Linked DNA regions of Homo sapiens: regions 1 and 3 are each linked to region 2. Evidence: promoter capture Hi-C in human tissues and cell types (Jung and others, 2019). All regions are on one chromosome and are shown on one strand. Each heading gives the region's core, a stretch centred on a gene start or on the middle of the fragment in contact. The rest is flanking DNA. Distances are from core to core; before and after follow the strand shown.

Region 1 (3,636 bases), core at 1,094-3,593, 80 kb before region 2:
TTGTCTTGTTTAATTGCTGTTGCTTTAAAGTTCATTTTGTCTGATATAAGAATAGCTCCTCTGGCTCACTTTTGGTGCCCATTTGCATGGGATATCTTTTTCCATCCCCTTACCTTAAGTTTATGTGAGTCCTATGTGTTAGGTGAGTCTCCTGAGACAGCAGAAAGTTGATTGGTGAATTCTCATTCAACATTAGCATTGAGATATGAGGTAATATTCTATTCATCATGCTATTTGTTGCTTGAATACCTTGTTTATTCTGTTGTGTTATTGTTTTATAGGTCCTGTGAGATTTATTCATTAAGAAGGTTCTATTTTTGTGTATTTTGAGAATTTATTTCAAAATCTAGAGCTCCTCTTAGCAGTTCTTATAGTGCTGGCTTGGTAGTGGCGAATTCTCTCAGCATTTGTTTGTCTGGAAAAGACTGCATCTTTTCTTCATTTGTGAGTCTTCGTTTCACTGGAAACAAAATCCTTAGCTGATAATTGTTTTGCTTGAGGGGGCTAAAAATAGGGCCCCAATCCCTTCCAGCTGGTAGGGTTTCTGCTGAGAAATCTGCAGTTAATCTGATAGGTTTTTCTTTATAGGTTTCCTGATGCTTTTGCCTCACAGCTCTTAAGATTATTTCCTTTGTCTTGACTTTAGATAACCTAATGACTATGTGCCTAGGTGATGATCTTATGATGAATTTCCCAGGTGTTCTTTGAGCTTCTTGTATTCGGATGTCTAGATTTCTAGCAAGAATGGGGAAGTTTTCCTTGATTATTCTCTTATATATGTTATCCAAACTTTCAGATTTATCTTCTTGCTTGGGAGCACCAATTATTCTTAGGTTAGGATGTTTCACATAGTTCCAAATTTCTTGGAAGCTTTGTTCATTTTTTTTATTATTTTTTATTTTGTTTGAGGGATTGGGTTAATTCAAAAGCCTTGTCTTTGAGTTCTGAAGTTCTTTCTTCTGCTTGTTTGATTCTTTTGCTGAGAATTTCCAGTGCATTTTGCATTTCTCCGTGTCCTTGATTTCCAGACATTGTGATTTTTTTATTTATGCTCTCTATTTCACTGAATAATTTTCCTTTTATATCCTATATCATGTTTTTTATTTATTTAAGTTGAACTTCCCTTTCTCTTGTGCCTCCTTGATTAGCATAATAATCAACCTTCTGAAATCCTTTTCTGTCAATTCAGTGATTTTGTCTTGGCTTAGATCCATTGCTGGTGTGATCTTTTGGGGGTGTTAAATAACCTTGTTTTGTCATATTACCAGAATTGCTTTTCTGGTTTCTTCTCATTTGGGTAGACTAGGTCACAAGGAAGAGCTGGGACTCAAGGGCTGCTGTTCAAATTCTTTTGTCCCATGGGGTGCTCCCTTGATGTGTTCTCCCTCTTCCCCTAAGGATGGAGCTTCCTGAGGGCCAAACTACAGTGATTGTTTTTGCTCCTCTAGCCACCCAGCAGAGCTACCGGCCTCCAGGCTGGTACTGGAAATTATCTTCAAAGAGTCCCGTGATGTGATCTGTCTTCAAATCTTGCAGCCATGGATACCAGCACCTGTTCCAGTGGAGGCAGCTGGGTAGTAAAGTGGAATCCGTGAGGGTCCTTGGTTGTATTTTTTTGTTTAGTATGCTGGTTTTGTGTTGGTTGGTCACTAGCCAGGAGGTGGTGCTTTCAAGAGCCCATCAGGTGTGGTACTATAAGGAGGATGCAAACTTGCCCTAGGGTCAACTGGTTAAGTATTCAGATTTCTCAGGTGGTGGGAAGAGCCACGGACCTCCCAAGAAATGATGTCCTTTGTCTTCAGCAAACAAGGTGGGTGGAGAAAGAATACCAGGTGGAAGCAGAGATAGGCATGTCTGAGCCCAGACTTTCCTTGGGCAGGGCTTGCTGCAGCTGCTGTGGGGGCTGGGGGTATAATTCCCAAGCTAATGGAGTTATATTCCCATGGGTATTACATTTTCAATAAAGTTCATTTATCTTACATAAGGCCAAAGTTATATATTTATAAAATTAGTTCTTACCAAAAAAAATCAACCCAGTAGGGTATGACGATTCATAATTTTTCAAAGTAGCAACTATTAAAGCTAATGGTTTGTGAGAGAAAAACTGCAGAAACACTTGTTTAGAAGGTCAACTATTCTTAAGACACAACTGTTTTTACATTCAGAAAACTAAGGTATTAATTCCTATTATCTACATTTTTTAATATAATTTTAAAATAATCACTTCAAATTAGCCGTATCTAAGCAACCATCTCTTTCTTCTTCTCATAACCCTAAATATTACCAAATAAAACTACAGTTTTCATTAATAGTGGCATTAAAGTATGATATTAATGGTGTGATAAACATAACCATGATTGTTTCCAATTTCTTCATGGCCATTTGGGCATGCCCAGTTTTACACCTTTAATAAAGCACACAATACATGTGCATTTCAATTAAAGAATTTAATATCTATTCCAACTTTATGTCTTGAGACAAAAAATAACAAAATAAAATTATGGAAAATATGAGGTAGTTTGTTTTTAAATGATCAATTTTTTTTCACAGATTATGTCAATAGGAGAGTAAATTCATTATATTGGCTTAAATCATTATTTTTTCAGTGAAATCAGCCAAATTGAGTTGTTTTGATATGGCCATGAAATAAATTTTTCACACTAAAGTTTAAAAAGCACTGCATTAATTTTCTCTAATTTAAAGGGAAATAAACAATAACACATAAAACAAGCTTAGTTTATATAAAATATATAAATACATGCTGTATTTTTTTGCTAGAGCTGCCACAACAAACTGTCACAAACTGGTTGGCCTCAACAACAGAGATATATTGTGTCACAGTTGTGGAGGATAGAAGTTCAAGATTAAAATATGTCAGCAGGGTTGGTTCCCTCTGAGTACTGTGAGGGAAAATCTGTTCTGTGTCTCTCTCCTAACTTATGATAGTTTTCTGATCGTTTCTGGCATTCCATATCTTAAAGATTTATTACTCTGTTCTCTGCTTTTATTTCACATGTTGGTTTCCTTCTGTTTATATTTATGAGTACAAATTTCCTAGGGAAACCAGTTGTTTTAAATGAGACCCCACTCTAATGACTTCATTTTAACTTGATAACCTCATTTAACTTGATTGCCTCTGTAAAGGCCCTATTTTCAAATAAGGTGCCTTAGTCAGGGTTCTCTAGAGGGACAGAACTAATATATGTATTATATGTGTGTTTGTGTATGTATATAATATACTATTGTACTAATAGTATATATATATATACTTTATATATAGACAGAGTATATGTATAATGTGTGTGTGTGTATATATATGTATATATACACACACATATATGTGTGTATATATATGGGGGAGTTTATTAAATATTAACACACATGTTCACAAGGTCCCACAATAGGCAGTCTGCAAGCTGAGAAACAAGTAGAGCCAATCCGAGTCCTAGAACTGAAGAACTTAAAGTCTGATGTTCGAAGGCAGGAAGCATCCAGCATGGGACAAAGATGTAGGCTGGAAGGCTAGGCCAGTCTAGACCTTTCACTTTTTTCTTCCTGCTTTTTATATTCTAACCACATTGTCAGCTGATTAGATGGTGCCCACCCAGATTAAGGGTGGGTCTTCCTTTCCCACCT
Region 2 (3,518 bases), core at 604-3,103:
TCTTCAAAGAAGGAAACTTAACGAGACATTGTGTGTGTAATGGAAATGTGATGTACATGAGTTTATGCTTACAAAATAATCAATAACTACAATGTAAAATCAGCACTCAATCCTTGTAAGACCACAGTATGAAAATTTCTACTTTCCTTCAAAAAGGGTTTGTAAATGATTTTAAAAGAAGAAACAGCAGCCTCGACTCTTAGAAAACTTAACTAGATAAATTTGCACATTACAAGTCTTAAAACTAGAAACCATATTATTAACTGTGAAACTATATAATTAGTTTCTTTGTGAGCTTTCAATTTTTTGCTAGATAAAATTAAAACTGCCACCAAAAAATGAGGCCATTATGAACATGACAGGTCATTTGTTGAGAAAAGGGTTATGTAGAAATAGCATCTGATAATTTGTTGGAAATATTAGCATATAGATGGCTATGAAATGTGTGAAGTATTATCAGAAGAATTCTAATAAAAAATTTTTGCAGTGTAAGTCGACTATGGTTCTATTTCAAATGTAGTTAGGTTCTTAGCCCTAATGGCAAGCAGAGGCTACACTAAATGTATTTAACCTAAAGACAAGTTGATAAGAAATTTATAATTCCACTGTTTTTTAAAAATTACAAAAGTAAAAGGTATATACACATAACATCTACAGCAACAAAGAATGCAAAAACATTCTTTTCACATAGAAAGAGTTAAATATACATGCTTTCAAGAACAATAGCAGCTTCTCTTAAACTTTCTTAACTTACCTAGTGTTTTCTATCACTAAAAAAGCTGTATGTAAATCATTAAGTTTAGACTACTGAATCTATATCGTTCTTTGTAAACCAGACTCAAAGCATATTTCTTTCTAAGTTAACATGAACATAATAGAACACACAGAAAGAAAAATATAACTGTGAGTTTATATGCAAAGTACTGGACAACTTTCAAATATATACATCCTTCCTTTTTTCTTTAAAATATCTCTCTACACTGATACTTCTGGCAGAAACCTGACAATAGTGGCTACGCTAATCGTAGCATACTATTTAGATGGACAACAGTTAATTCATTTGAGCAAAAGTTTTAGAGATCTGTTTTAGACCTTTAAATCAAACTCCAGATATATACAATAGTATCCCTTATCCACAGTTTTGCTTTCTGCAGTTTCAGTTACCCATGGTCAATAGTGGTCTGCAAATATTAAATTGAAAGCTTCAGAAATAAACAATTCATAAGTTTTAAATTGCACACCATTCTGAGTAGTGTGAAGAAATCTCGAGCCATCCCGTTCCACTCTCACCTGACTGAGACGTGAATTATCCCATTGTCCACCATCTCCACACTGTATACCCTCCCTGTCTGTTAGTCACTCAGTAGCTGTCTTGGTTATCAGATCAATTGTAAGGTAGCTCAGAGCTTGTGTTTAATATGTACCCCTTATTTTACTTCATAATGGCCTCAAAGTGCAAGAGTAATGATGCTTTTATATTGTTATAACTGTTCTATTTTATTATTAGTCATTGTTTTTAGTCTCTTGCTGTGCCTAATTTATAAATTAAATTTTATCATAGGTATGTATGTACAGGAAAAAATATAGTATATATAGGGTTCTGTACTATCTGTGGTTCTGTGGTTTCAGGCACCCACTGGGGATCTTGGAACGTAGCCGCCACAGATAATGGGAGACCAAACACAAAGTTAACAAAGTTAACAAGGAAATGGTAACACTTCCAGTACGGGAAAAAAAAAAAAAAACCTATTTAGAGATTTTTAAGTGACTCATTCAACACACTTGCCCAGAAGGCACTAATATAGAATTTGTAGATTTTAAAAATACAGTATGGGCAGGCAACGCGCTGAGGGACTAGGCAGAGCCGTGGAACCGCCGCCAGGTCGCTGTCGGTCCACGCCGCCCGTCGCGCTGCCCGCCCGCTCGGCGTCGGCCGCCGCCATGGGAGTGCACGTGGAAACCATCTCCCCAGGAGACTGGCGCACCTTCCCGAAGCGCAGCCAGACCTGCGTGATGCACTACACCGGGATGCTTGAAGATGGAAAGAAATTTGATTCCTCCCGGGACAGAAACAAGCCCTTTAAGTTTATGCTAGGCAAGCAGGAGGTGATCCGAGGCTGGGAAGAAGGGGTTGTCCAGATGAGTGTGGGTCAGAGAGCCAAACTGACTATATCTCCAGATTATGCCTATGGTGCCACTGGGCACCCAGGCATCATCCCACCACATGCCACTCTCGTCTTCGATGTGGAGCTTCTAAAACTGGAATGACAGGAATGGCCTCCTCCCTTAGCTCCCTGTTCTTGGATCTGCCATGGAGGGATCTGGTGCCTCCAGACGTGTGCACATAAATCCATATGGAGCTTTTCCTGATGTTCCACTCCACTTTGTATAGACATCTGCCCCAACTGAATGTGTTCTGTCACTCAGCTTTGCTTCCGACACCTCTGTTTCCTCTTCCCCTTTCTCCTGGTATGTGCGTTTACCTAAACTATATGCCATAAACGTCAAGTTATTCATTTTACTTTTTCATTTTGGGGTGAAGATTCAGTTTCAGTCTTTTGAATATAGGTTTCCAATTAAGTACATGGTCAAGTGTTAACAGCACAAGTGATAAGTTAACGTTAGGATAGGAATTGGTGTTGAGGGGGTTGCAAGAATATTTTATTTTAATTTTTTGGATGAAATTTTTATCTATTATATATTAAACATTCTTGCTGCTGCGCTGCAAAACCATAGCAGATTTGAGGCACTGTTGAGGACTGAATTATTCTCCAAGTTGAGAGATGTCCTTGGGTTAAATTAAAAGCCCTACCTAAAACTGAGGTGGGGATGGGGAGAGGCTTTGCCTCCACCATTCCCACCCCACCCTCCCCTTAAACCCTCTGCCTTTGAAAGCAGGTCATGTTCACTGCGATGCTGGACACTACAGGTATCTGTCCCTGGGCCAGCAGGGACCTCTGAAGCCTTCTTTGTGGCCTTATTTTTTTTTTTTTTTTTTTCATCCTGTGGTTTTTCTAACGGACTTTCAGGAATTTTGTAATCTCATAACTTTCCAAGCTCCACCACTTCCTAAATCTTAAGAACTTTAATTGACAGTTTCAATTGAAGGTGCTGTTTGTAGACTTAACACCCAGTGAAAGCCCAGCCATCATGACAAATCCTTGAATGTTCTCTTAAGAAAATGATGCTGGTCATCCCAGCTTCAGCATCTCCTGTTTTTTGATGCTTGGCTCCCTCTGCTGATCTCAGAGTTTCCTGGCTTTTCCTCCCTCAGCCACTTCTCACCCCTTTGCTGTCCTGTGTAGTGATTTGGTGAGAGGAATCGTTGCTGCCCCCTTCCCCTAGCACCATATATGAGTCTCAAGTTTTATTATTGCAATAAAAGTGCTTTATGCTGGCTTTTCTCAAAAAATAAATAAATAAATAAATAAATAAAATAAAAATACAGTATGCACCTGTTCACCAAAAATCTATGGAAATAAAAAAATTAAATAAATAACTAAATATAAATAAAAATA
Region 3 (3,419 bases), core at 637-3,136, 130 kb before region 2:
AAGAGCAAAGTCTCCCAGTTACAACTAAGGAGGTGGGAGAAATACCTGGTTACAGGCTGTCCCAGGATTCCGTGGATGGTAATGGACCTACAGGACAGCTGTCAGGAACAGGAGACTAACACTGAGAAAGCCATGCCAGTGTCCAGGAAGAAGTCAATTTCCTGGCCCTCATTGGTTAAATGTACCAGGGCTCAGTGAGGGTGAGGACATGAGTTGGTGCTTGCCCCAGGCACCCTCAGTTCTGTTGTTGGATCATCTGGTTGGGGCTTCTGGCCCAGAGAACCTTTGACCTCTGGGGCAGTGTGCCTTCCAGTGATTGCCTCGGTATAGTGGACATGGATGAGGGGTCAGCTTGCTTATCATTGGACAATCTTTTTTAAAGTGTCATTGCAAACCACACTGATAACAAGCCCCACCAGGTGGTTGGCCTGCTCCATTCTCTGTCCTCTTTGAGCCACCAAGGTTTGTTTGTCTGAGGACCATGAATAAGGCTGCAGCCTTTCTCTGATATTGTTTTCTTTTTGGCCTATTCTTCTTGGTCCCTACTATAGAACACTGAGGTTGCCAGGTTTAATAATGCCTCCAGATTTTGTTCATGGCCCAGGACTCACTTTTGGAGCTTTCTCCTGATATCTGTGGCTGACTGGGTAATAAACTTACCTTTTAGGATCAATTGACCTTTGAGGGAGTCAGGTGTCAGGGGAGTATATTTTCTTAGGGCCCCCCATAGCTGCTCAAGGAAGGCGGAAAGATTTTCTTCCTTTCCCTGAGTTATGGTGGACATCATTGACTAATTCATGGGCTTTTTCATAATTCTCCTTAGTCCTTCTAGAACAAAAGTCAACATATGTTTATGACTCTAGTCCCCATGATCCGAGTCTAGGTCCCAGTGGGGATTCATACTGCAGATGGCTTGCTGACTGGTAGGGAATTTGTCCCTTTCTTTGGCTGTAATTCTATCATTTACTTGACTAAGATATCAAATATCTCCAAGCTCTCAGGCTGCAGCTAAAGTCACATTCTTTTCATTAAAGGCCAGGGTTTGATCTAACAATATCATGACATCTCTCCAAATGAGGTCAAAGGTTTGCCCTAGACCCTGTAGGATATCTATGTACCTATCAGGATCATCTGAAAACTTCCCCAGGTCTGCCTTGATCTGCTTTAAATCAGAGAGGGAGAAGGGGACATGTACCTGGGTTGGGCCAAATTCCCCTCCCCCTACAGCTTGAAGGGGACATAACCAATAGCCCAGGGGTTTTTGTGGTCCCTTGGAGATTTATTTGCTTGTTTCCTTCTGGGTGGGGAGACTAGAGGAGCCTTATCATTAATAGGAAGGGGATCTGTAAGGAGGCTAGGATATGGAGGTAAGTTGAGAGTTCCTCCTGTGGGATGTAAATTGCAAGTTTGCATAGTTGTGGATTATCCTTCAATAAAAGAAAGCTTGGACATGAGGTATTTCACTCCATTTGCCTTCCCACTTACAGAAAAGGTTAAGCTGCAGGATAGTATTGTAATTTATACTTCCCTCAGGCGACCATTTTTTCACATCAGAGAGAATATTGGGGCCAGGACGTAGTGCAGAGAAAAATGAGCCATATCTTTTTCAGAGTTTGTGGGTCAAATTGGTCCCAATGGCTTAGGATGCATTTCAAGGGTGAGCCTGTTGATGCCTGAGTGTTTCCCATCTGAAAGAAAAAACTGCCCACCATTTTGGTTTGTTTGTCTCCCCCTCACTGGCCCTAGAACCCACAATGGTCCCTGGACCCTGCTATTCAGAATAGTTGTGCTCACTGAAGCAGCAGCAGAAACACTGGTTTTCCTCGTAGACCACAAAGAGGACCAAGGAAGGTGGGATTTAGTGGCCCTTACCGACACATTCTCAAAAATCTGCACCCTTGCCTTTCCTCTCAGACCACAAAGAGGACCAAGAAAAATCAGATTTAGTGGTCCTTACCAACACATTCTCAAAAACCTATTAGAGTCCCAAGCATTTTCTCCTGTTAGTATTGGGACCTTACCTCTGTCCTATAAAGATGATATGCCCCAAAAATGGAGTGGAGGGCCACACCCTAAGGGAGGGAAGGGATCTCCAGGATCCCTTCAGGATTCCAAGGGATCTTCCCTTGGAAGAGTGACACCTTTTGTCCTCACTTCTCATCACATGAATAGGAAGGATATCATTTCTGAGGCTCCCCATATCCTAGCTTCAGAAATAGCCTTTGTTAGGCCTGCTAGTCTGAGGAGGGATCCTAAAATTCCAGATAGTCTCCCCCAACTCCCAGTGGGGCTTTGGGCAAAAACTAAGTCTTTCTGATTGGTGAGCCTGGGTGCCTAAAGAAAGGAATAGAGTCCCAAAATTTATACTAGAAATCATTCTTATAGGAGAAACTAGAAAAGCACCAGAGACAGGGAGTGGTTTTTAGAAGCGGGACTAGCCTCGGAAAAGAGAGGCAGGAGGAAATTTGTCTGAAAAGCATTAGGACCCAGGAGGCAAGGGTCAAGTTAGATAGGATAGATGGGCAAGTCTTGCTTAGATGACTTGACTTTGAGAGCTCTGCTCATGGCTATAGGGTCAACCAACATTTTATCAGGACCCTGGAGCTGAATGGCTTTCCTTTCTGTTGACACTCAGTTCAGCCCAGAAGTACAGGAAAAGTTTAAGCTGTTTCCAGGCAAACCAATGCTACCAACTCCGAAGAGTCAGGAATAGTTAGAGAGCTCTTTCCCAGAAAGCCTGACACCCATGTCTTTAGTCCTGCAGCCATGCTAGTCATTTTTAGCCGGCTGATAGGTGCCCGGTGTTTAGCCCCCAAATTCTGAGGAAAAATAGGAGAAAATAGCAAGCAAAATGGGTCCAATTGTACTCACCACTTGGAAATATTCCAGATGAGCCCCCAAGATGTGTCTGGAGTTGGTTCCTTCTGGTGGGTTCGTGGTCTCACTGACTTCAAGAATGGAGCCATGGACCTTTGCAGTGAGTGTTACAGCTCTTAAAGATGGCATGGACCTGAAGAGTGAGCAGCAGCAAGATTTATTGTGAAGAGCTAAAGAACAAAGCTTCCATAGTGTGGAAGGGGACAAGAGGGTTGCCACTGCTGGCTGGGGTGGCCAGCTTTTATTCCCTTATTTGTCCCTGCCCATGTCCTGCTGATTGGTTCATTTTACAGAGCACTTATTCGTCCAATTTACAGTGTGCTGATTGGTCTATTTTACAAACCTCTAGCCACAGAGCACTGATTGGTGCATTTTTACAGAGTGCTGATTAGTGCATTTTATAATCCTCTTGTAAGACAGAAAAGTTCTCCAAGTCCCCACCCAACCCAGAAGTCCAGCTAGCTTCACCTCTCAGCATCTGGTGGTCTGCTGGTGGCAGATCCTGTACGTGCCCTAAATACAAAAAGGAAGGACTCTGTGCA

The links. The method cuts DNA at HindIII sites, captures the fragments that hold promoters and counts their contacts. A contact is called where the count stands out against the background at its distance.
Region 1: a fragment that was not itself captured here is called in contact with the fragment with the promoter of FKBP1C in region 2 in 7 of the 25 tissues and cell types used here (H1 embryonic stem cells, dorsolateral prefrontal cortex, lymphoblastoid cells and 4 more).
Region 3: a contact is called between a fragment that was not itself captured here and the fragment with the promoter of FKBP1C in region 2, in 2 of the 25 tissues and cell types used here (adrenal gland and thymus).

The regions. Positions count from the first base shown.
Region 1 is chr6:63,128,997-63,132,632 of GRCh38, forward strand. No RefSeq gene overlaps it. Among named protein-coding and RNA genes, the nearest start is that of FKBP1C, 81 kb to the right of the region's middle. The HindIII fragment of the contact is 6,731 bases long and covers 1-3,636 here.
Region 2 is chr6:63,209,616-63,213,133 of GRCh38, forward strand. FKBP1C (FKBP prolyl isomerase family member 1C) reads left to right here and starts at 1,854. Exons shown (of 1, transcript NM_001395980.1): 1 at 1,854-3,412. The coding sequence starts at 1,942. The coding sequence ends at 2,268. The HindIII fragment of the contact is 10,095 bases long and covers 1-3,518 here.
Region 3 is chr6:63,083,395-63,086,813 of GRCh38, forward strand. No RefSeq gene overlaps it. Among named protein-coding and RNA genes, the nearest start is that of FKBP1C, 130 kb to the right of the region's middle. RefSeq lists a silencer at 2,919-3,125. The HindIII fragment of the contact is 4,926 bases long and covers 1-3,419 here.